Regions from separate parts of the Homo sapiens genome. Here regions 1 and 3 are each linked to region 2. Evidence: promoter capture Hi-C in 16 types of primary human blood cells and fetal thymus (Javierre and others, 2016). All regions are on one chromosome and are shown on one strand. Each heading gives the region's core, a stretch centred on a gene start or on the middle of the fragment in contact. The rest is flanking DNA. Distances are from core to core; before and after follow the strand shown. Region 1 overlaps ZZEF1 (zinc finger ZZ-type and EF-hand domain containing 1). Region 2 holds the start of CAMKK1 (calcium/calmodulin dependent protein kinase kinase 1). Region 3 overlaps ZZEF1 (zinc finger ZZ-type and EF-hand domain containing 1).

What was found. Contacts are between HindIII fragments. The CHiCAGO score rates a contact against its expected background, and 5 or more counts as called.
Region 1: a fragment that was not itself captured here is called in contact with the fragment with the promoter of CAMKK1 in region 2 in 1 of 17 cell types (megakaryocytes); the score reaches 6.2 in megakaryocytes.
Region 3: a contact is called between a fragment that was not itself captured here and the fragment with the promoter of CAMKK1 in region 2, in 4 of 17 cell types (megakaryocytes, erythroblasts, M0 macrophages and 1 more). The highest score is 6.5, in megakaryocytes.

The regions. Positions count from the first base shown.
Region 1 is chr17:4,095,801-4,098,636 of GRCh38, reverse strand. ZZEF1 (zinc finger ZZ-type and EF-hand domain containing 1) reads left to right here. Exons shown (of 55, transcript NM_015113.4): 10 at 1,937-2,028; 11 at 2,658-2,806. Among named protein-coding and RNA genes, the nearest start is that of ZZEF1, 46 kb to the left of the region's middle. The HindIII fragment of the contact is 2,756 bases long and covers 21-2,776 here.
Region 2 is chr17:3,891,637-3,894,547 of GRCh38, reverse strand. It overlaps CAMKK1 (calcium/calmodulin dependent protein kinase kinase 1), which reads left to right and starts at 1,495. Exons shown (of 16, transcript NM_032294.3): 1 at 1,495-1,609. RefSeq lists silencers at 1,049-1,588, 1,619-1,798, 1,939-2,188. The HindIII fragment of the contact is 22,194 bases long and covers 1-2,911 here.
Region 3 is chr17:4,032,513-4,035,298 of GRCh38, reverse strand. It overlaps ZZEF1 (zinc finger ZZ-type and EF-hand domain containing 1), which reads left to right. Exons shown (of 55, transcript NM_015113.4): 40 at 1,007-1,284; 41 at 2,297-2,471. Among named protein-coding and RNA genes, the nearest start is that of LINC01975, 57 kb to the right of the region's middle. The HindIII fragment of the contact is 2,526 bases long and covers 55-2,580 here.

The DNA of each region.
Region 1 (2,836 bases), core at 149-2,648, 200 kb before region 2:
GAGTCCCAGAAAAAAAAGCTTATTTATTGCTGAGTTATATCATTTAGAGACGTTTGAAAGAGAAAGGCAACCTTGGGTCTAGCAGAAGACTTTTTCATGAGTTGTTAAAGGATAATTACCAACAATCAAAAAAGGAAAATAGTGACTGTCATACAAATATAAGTGAACACATTCATACTTTTAATTTATTTACTTTAATTTATTTATTCATTCATTCATTCATTTGAGACAGGGTCTCACTCTACTGCCCAGACTGGAGTGAAGTGTTGTGATGATAGCTCACTGCAACCTCCACCTCCCAGGCTCAAGCGATCCTCCCACCCTGGCCTCCCAAGTAGCTAGGATTGCAGGTGTGCACCACCGTGCCCAGCTGATTTTTTTTTTTTTTTTTTTTTGAGTTGGAGTCTCACTCTGTCACCCAGGCCGGCTGGAGTGCAATGGTGAGATCTCAGCTTACTGCATCCTCCGCCTCCCGGGTTCAAGCGATTCTCCTGTCTCATCCTCCTGAGTAGCTGGGATTACAGGTGTGTGCCACCACGCCCGGCGAATTTTGTGTTTTTAGTAAAGATGGGGTTTTCACCATGTTGGCCAGGCTCGTCTCGAACTCCTGACCTTAAGTGAACTGCCTGCCTCAGCCTCCCAAAGTGCTGGGATTATAGGTGTGAGCCACCACACCCACCTTGATTTTTGCTTTTTTTTTTTTTTTTTTTGGTAGAAATGGGGTCTCACTGTGCTGCCCAGGCTGGTTTTGAGGCTCAAGTGATCCACTGGCCTCAGCCTCCCAAAGTGCTGGGATTACAGGCATGAGCTACTGTGCCTGGCCCAGACTTTTTATTTAGCTCATTAATTAATGAGGGAACCAGTAAGATGTTACAAACAGTTCTAAGGAGAATTCATAAAATACATGTAGACTAACAAGAATGCTAAAATTAATTTACAAATAGATAGAATGTTGGTCAGTATCCATAAGGAATAATCAGCAACATTTCCACAGAACACAGTGTTTAGTTCTGTGGACAAGAATCATGTGCATCACTACCAGTGTTCTACAACTTACAGAATTGTAAAATAGTTTAGAGACCATAAAAGGCAGAGACGACCGAAAGGGTATGTTGGCTAGGACACCCAGTGATTCTTTTTTTTTTTTTTTTTTTTTTTTCCCATTTCAAAGCCTTTCATAACCTTTCCTGACAAAGTGTTGTAGAAGCTAACTAATCCCTTTCTCAGCCACTAAGCCAGTAGGCTTTATCAGCCCAGGCAGCCATCAGCCATGGTTGTAGGTGTGGCTCAGGAAGATGATTGATTGTCCAGTCTTTTGTCGCTTTGGCTTAAATGTTTTATAAACATTTCTTTTCTTTTTCTTTTTCTTTTTCTTTTTTTTTTTTGAGACGGAGTTTCACTCTGTTGCCCAGGCTGGAGTGCAGTGGCACAATCTCCAAGCTCCGCCTCCCGGGTTCACGCCATTCTCCTGTCTCAGCCTCCCGAGTAGGTGGGACTACAGGCGCCCGCCACCACACCTGGATAATTTTTTGTATTTTTAGTAGAGACGGGGTTTCTCCGTGTTAGCCAGGATGGTCTCCGTCTCCTGATCTCGTGATCCACCCGCCTCGGCCTCCCAAAGTGCTGGGATTACAGACGTGAGCCACTGTGCCCGGCCTAAACATTTATTTTCTTATTGTTACCTCAGAGCAGGGCTGCCTGTGAGGTGGAGGGGATTGTGCCCTGGGAAAGTTGAACCTGGTCAGTTCTCTGCTTACCTGGGGCTTTATCATCGGGGTTGCCTCTGTCCAAAGAGGACATTTTTCTCTAATTTTCGTGAAGATATCAGACCAGTTACCCCCCATGACTCAAAGGATATGGTTTGTTTTTGTTGATCTTAGTTCTTAGGGCTATAAAAATGGGTTAGTTCCCTAACTTGAGTTTTCCCTTTTTTCAGGTTTTCTTACGGAAACTGGAAAAACCAGAGCCAGCACTATTTTTTCTACCGGAACTGAATCTGCCTTCCAAGTTACACAGATAAGAATTATGGTAATTTTCGTGCTACCTTCTTTAAGCAATGTTACTACTTTTGTTTTCAATTTTTATGGGTACATAGTAGGTATATATATTTGTGGGGTACATGAGGTGTTTTGATACAGGCATGCAATGTGAAATAATCATACAGAGGATGAGGATGAGCTATTCATCCCCTCAGGCATTTAGTCTTTGTGTTATAAACAATCCATTACACTGTTGTAGTTACTTTTCCATGTACAATTAGGTTATTATTGAATATTACCTTTTATTACATTTCAGAAGTCCACGTCATTGGTGTTTTGGTTTTTTTTTTTAAAGTCAGACCTATGGCTGACCATGTCATTGGTTATTCATTGAACATTTAATGATGATTTACTCTGTGTCAGGCCTGTAGCAGAGGGCAGGGACACAAAGATGGATAGACTGTAAAGTCTTTGAAATGGTGAGAATATAAGGATTGAGAAAGTTAAGGAACATTTCTTGGGAAACAGCTTTCTTATTTTTTGAGGGCTTAATATGTTTGAAATATTTTTCATTGGTCTCGTTTTGTTTTAACCTGTTTGAATTTAACCATGCTGGAAACAAAACGGCCACAGAACTTTTGCCCCTTTGATAGACTTCATCCTAATCTCTGTTTCCAGGTTCGACGTGGTGGCATTGGTGCCCAGTGTGGGTTGGTGTTTGCCTATAACTCATCTTCAGATAAATTTTGTGCGGAAGAACACTTCAAAAGGTTTGAAAAATATGACAAATGGAAGCTTCAGGAGCTCAGGCAATTTGTAAAAAGCAGGTAAGAAGGTAAAAAATCTTTGTAGAACAA
Region 2 (2,911 bases), core at 246-2,745:
CATGTTAAGTAAGCTCAAGCGGTGTATGTGAAAGTGCCACGTGGCAACTTCTGGGAACTTTCCTGAAAAGAGAGCTGGTGCAGACCCTCTGCCCTCTTCTTCATCCTTTTCTCCACTCCACTGCCTGGAATGCGTTATGTGATTGCTGGAGCTCTAGCTGGTATCCTGAACCATGAGGTCAAAAGCCACACTCAAGTTGCTGGAATTATTCATTCAACAACATCCACTGAGCACCTGTGCCATGCGACAGGCTGTGTGCTGGACGAATCAGGCACAGTGCTTGCCATCCAGGAGCTCCCAGTCCCAATGAGGAACCAGCAGGTAAACAGATGCCAGGTACAAGGAAGTACCTGGGTGGGGCCACTAACCCATGCTGGAAGTGGGGAGGTCATGGAGAAGGTTTCCAGGCAGAAGTAGGATTGAATTGAACCCTGAAAGACGAGTAGGCGTTAAACAGGCAGGTGGCTGGGAGTAAGGCTATACAGGGCTTGATTAGACCTATTCTCACGGTGAGCCATAGAAAATGCCTCTCGGTGGACTTGTGTTCCTGAAAACTTGCTCTGGGTGCCAGGGAGAGAAAGGCTAGTAGGAGGTGAGACTGGATGGGGCTGGAGGCCAGGGAGGAGGCTGCTGCAGCAATCAGGGACAAGATGGTGGTAGCCTGAGCTAAGGGAGGGGAAGTGGGGTGGAGAGGAGTGGGCCGATTCCAGGGATAGTTAAGAGGCAGTATGGCAGGGCCTGGAGATGGACTGGTTGGAGCAGGAAACAGGGAGGCAGCAGGTGACTCCCAGGCTCCTGGCTCCACTTCGAGACAGGGACGCAGGAGGTTAGATTTGGGGGAAGGATATGGGGCAAGTGGTGGTGCCAGAGGATTCACACGCGGAGGCGTTAGGGGAAGAGGTGGCGGCAGAGTCCCCAGGAACAGCCACAGCGAAGGTCACCTCACTGTCCTGCTGAGTTCCCTCTACTCCCTCGGCCCTCGCTAGGCCATTCCTGTCGCCGGCTCACCGAGCAAGCACTTCACTCTGTGCTAAGCCACCTCTCGGCCTCTCTGCCCCCGCCCCGCAGAAGCTACACTCCTGGGCCTGCCATTCAAGGCCTTCCTCCCCGGGCCTCGCCCCTCCCTCGCACGCACCGCGCCTCGCCCGGGAGGGAGGGGCGCTCTGGCTCCTGCAGGCCGGGATGGGGGCGCAAAGGGTTTGGCGGGGAAGCACGGTCCCCTGCAGGCCCAGGAGAAGGGCCCACGCCGCGGCCGGGAGGGACTTCGGGGACCCCAGGACGCCGGGGGCGTGGCGAGGTCGGCCCCGCCGCAGGGGAGGGAGGGCCCCTACCGCGCCGCCCACCGCGGTCCCTTAGTCCAGGAGGGGGCGGGAGTCCCGGGCTCCGATTGGGCGGCGCTGGCGGGGCCGTTCGCTCCGACCAATGAGCGCCGGCCGGGCGCGGCGGTGGGCGGGGCAGCGAGCGCTGCCCGGAGCCGCGGCGCCCGCGGGCTGAGCTCGGCGATCTGGGCCCCAGCGAGGCGGTGGGGCGGGGCGGGGCGGGGCGGGGCGCGCAGCAGGAGCGAGTGGGGCCGCCCGCCGGGCCGCGGACACTGTCGCCCGGCGCCCAGGTAGGGATCGGCGGGGCGGGGACGCGGGCGAGGAGCAGGAGGACGAACGCCTTAACACCTGCCCCGAGCCTGCAAGGGAGAGGCGGGGGGGGTCTGCCAGGCCGCGTCTACGAGGGAGCTGGGATCTGGTCAGGGCGGGGATCCTTCCCCTTCTGTCTGCGGGGCCGGGTCTGCGGGGTGCCTCGCGGAGTCTGCTCGGGTCTGCGCCGGCCGCCGGGACCGCATCGCCGCGGGTGCCCCGCCGTCTGCGTTCTTCCCCGCTTCTGTCTGCGGACCGCATCCATCCCCGGTGCACTGTCCCCCGCGCCCGGCTCCTGGTGGAGGCCACGTCTGTGCGGAGTGGGCCCGGCCCGGGGCACCCACGTGCGGTTCTCCGCGGAGCGCTCCTCCCACGGCCCGCCGGAGCGTCTTCCTGCAGGAGCCGGGGGCGGGGTGGGAGATGAATGGGGCGGCGGCGGCGCGCGGCTCAGGCTGCGCAGGGTCCTGCCTTGGCTGGGGCGAGAGGGGGCGGCAGAGGCGGGCGCTGCGGCTTCGGGGCCCGGGAGGCGCAGGGCTGGTGGCTGGGGGGGTGTCCACGTGCGCAGGGACCTGCGTGTGCTGTTTGGAGGCGGGTGTGCGTGTGTCACGTGGACGCGGGAGTGTGCCTGTGTCTGCGTGGGGGGTGCAGGACAGGATGGAGTGGTGTGTGAGGGCGGGTCACGCGGACACGGGCGTGTGCCTGTCAGGGGAGGGGGTGTGCTCAAGTCTTGGCGTTGCAGGGCTGTGCAGAGAAGGCTGTGTCACAGGCCACAGGACCGGGCCTTGGTGGTGTCCGCAGGGCGGGCACAGGAGTGTGGGAGGGGCACACAGCCTGTGCGCGCTGGAGGATCCCAGGGAAGTGGCGCTGGCCTCCCCAAGCCCTGCCCTCTTTCCTCCAGTACATACAAATTGACCCCCCACTGCGTCCCAGGCGCACACACTCTGGGGACCCTTCGCCTCTTCCTCGGTCTCCCACCGTCAGTCCTCACAGCAGCCATGGGAGTCGTTTTAAACCTCACCTAACCGAGGCACTCCCCTGCTCACAACCTCCCCCTGGCTTTGGGGGCCTCCTGGGCTCTGTCCACCAAGCTCTCCCCACCCCCAAACCAAGCCCGGAGTCCCAGCCAGGAAATGACTCTCCTATATGCACAGTGCAAACTTCCATCCTCGCCTCATCCTGAAATCCTGCTCAGTGCTCAGAAGAGAGCTCAGGTGCCACCTCCTCTAGGAAGCCATCCCTGAGGCCAGCACAATGAGTGAGGGGGCTTTCTCTCCAGATGTAAC
Region 3 (2,786 bases), core at 68-2,567, 140 kb before region 2:
TATAGTGCCCTCTTGAGTCACACTGAGGATAACAACTCAGACATTGTAAAAGCTTTCTTCGGTTTTGTGCATTTTTTTCCTGTGGAAAATAACAAATGGTATAAGTATAGAAATGTTTGTACCAGGCCGTTTAGCTGAATGGTTTTTATAATAATGAAGAACTGGAAACAAAGTATTAATAAGTTGCAAGACACTATTTAAAGAAAGAAAAACAACTATTTAAAATTTTAAATTTATTTTACATATACATACATACACAAATATATATATATACACACACAGACATGTTGTTTGTTTTTTGAGACGGAGTCTCACTCTGTCACCCAGGCAGGAGTGCAGTTGGCATGACCATGGCTCACTGCAGCCTCCACCTCCTGGGCTCAAGCAATCCTCTCACCTCAGCCTCCCAAGTAGCTGGGACTACAGGCACGTACCACTATGCCTGGCTAATTTTTTGTATTTTTTGTAGATACAGGGTCTCACTATGTTGCCCAGGCTGGTCTTGAACTCCTGGGCTTGAGTGACTCTCCCGCCTTGGCCTCCCAGAGTGCTGGGATTACAGGTGTGAGTCACTATGCCTGGCCTATTTTACATATATCATGTGTAAATAAATATGCATAGAAAAAGGTTGAAAGACTATTCATCACACTTAACAGTTGTTATCTCCTGGCCATGGTTGCAGGGAGGGGATTTAGGGGAGCTTTAACTTTTGCGTGTTTCTGAATTATTTAAATTATTTTACAATGGACATTTTGAAAGGTGAGGGGGAAACCAAGTATTTTAAGTTTCTTTTTCAGGGTAAAGAAATATTAGAAGTAGGATTGTAAGATGAGAGCTGAGGATGTTTATTTTGTAAGTGATTATACATATGGCATTTATGAAAGCTACAAGCATGATTCCGTTAGCACTAGGCCAGCTGTAAATAAGGTAGGAGGGAGATATAATATTTAGCAAGTTTGGTTATGTGGATTTTGTACTGAACAGATTTCTCTCCCTCTCTTGGCAGGGCCCCACGGTTCCCCTGATAGACCTGGAGCACGTCCTTCCACTCATGTTTCAGGTTGTCATCTCAAACGCAGGCCACCTGAATGAAACCTACCATCTCACCCTGGGTCTTCTCGGCCAGTTAATTATCCGTCTTTTGCCAGCAGAGGTAGACGCCGCAGTGATCAAAGTCCTCTCAGCCAAACACAACCTGTTTGCTGCAGGGGACAGTTCCATTGTGCCAGATGGCTGGAAAACCACCCACCTGCTCTTTAGCCTGGGAGCTGTGTGTCTGGACAGGTAGCCTTGGTCCTCGCTCCTCTAACCACCTGCCCTCTATCCCACCTTGGTGTTTATTTGTTTAAGTTGAAGGTCTGGCTGTTGATTAATTTCGGTGTGCTACAGTTGTGTTGTCTGAGAGTTTTGTGGAAATAGAATTAGGTTCATGAGCAATGCTGTCAACCCACATTAAAACTGTGCTTAACACCAACGTTAAAACAGCTGAGCAGTCTCGACACTGGCTGCTGATTCAACTCTCTAATGAGGCATATTCTGTTTTTAATGAGCGGTAAGTGTGGGCCTTGAGGTTGAAGCAAATAAATCTGTTTTCGTTGTAAAAGTAACATAACCACAACACCAAATTTGGAAAACAGAAATGAAGGAATAAGCTGGGCACGGTGGCTCACATCTGTAATCCCAGCACTTTGGGAGGCTGAGGCTGGTGGATCACGAGGTCAGGAGTTCGAGACCAGCCTGGCCAACATAGTGAAACCCTGTCTCTACTAAAAATACAAAGAAAATTAGCCGGACATGGTGGCGTGTGCCTGTAATCCCAGCTACTCCGGAAGCTGAGGCAGGAGAATCACTTGAACTCAGGAGGCGGAGGTTACGGTCAGCAGAGATCGCGCCATTACACCCCAGCCTGGACGACAGAGCAAGACTCCGTCTCAAAAAAATAATAATAATAAAAGAAGGAAAAAAGTCACCCTGACTTGCACCATTTTAATACATCTGGTGCTGTCTCACTACATTTTCTTCTGTGTTTGAATATGAGTGTGCATGTGCACACACACAGGTGATTTTTATAGATATTTTTGGAAACACAGCCGTAGGGTGAGTATGTAAGTAACAAGTCTTGATTTTGTTTGCTCTTTTACTCACCATTATACGAAAAGCATTATTCTGGTAGTTTTTAAGCTAGTTAATGAATGGCTCTTTGAAGGCTTCTGGGTCTGCCTTGGAGTGTAGTGAGCTCTAACGAGTTGAGTTTGGAGCCCTGTGTACTGCCCCTAATGGAGCTCTTGCCTTCCAGCCGGGTGGGCTTGGACTGGGCGTGCTCCATGGCAGAGATCCTGCGGTCACTCAACAGTGCCCCACTGTGGCGTGATGTCATTGCCACCTTCACAGACCACTGCATCAAGCAGCTGCCATTCCAGCTGAAGCACACCAACATCTTCACCCTGCTCGTGCTGGTTGGCTTCCCCCAGGTACCACACTCTGAAGGCCTGAGGGCCTGGTCACCCCTTCCAGTCTTCACTATACACACCAAAGCCTCTGTGGCTTCCGGATATATAGGCATAGATCTCTTTGGAAGCTTTTTCCTTTGCCTGTACACCTTGCTTTTGTAGTATTGAAGTATTGTCAAGATTATGGGATGGTTTATTCAACTTGCATTTTTAACGGTTAAACATTTGATTCATTTATAGCCAGTAGTTGGCTTTGAATAATAGGTGACTGTAATATATCAGATTACAAAGAACTTCAAAGAAAATTGTCTTTCATTTTGGCATTCACCTTGACCT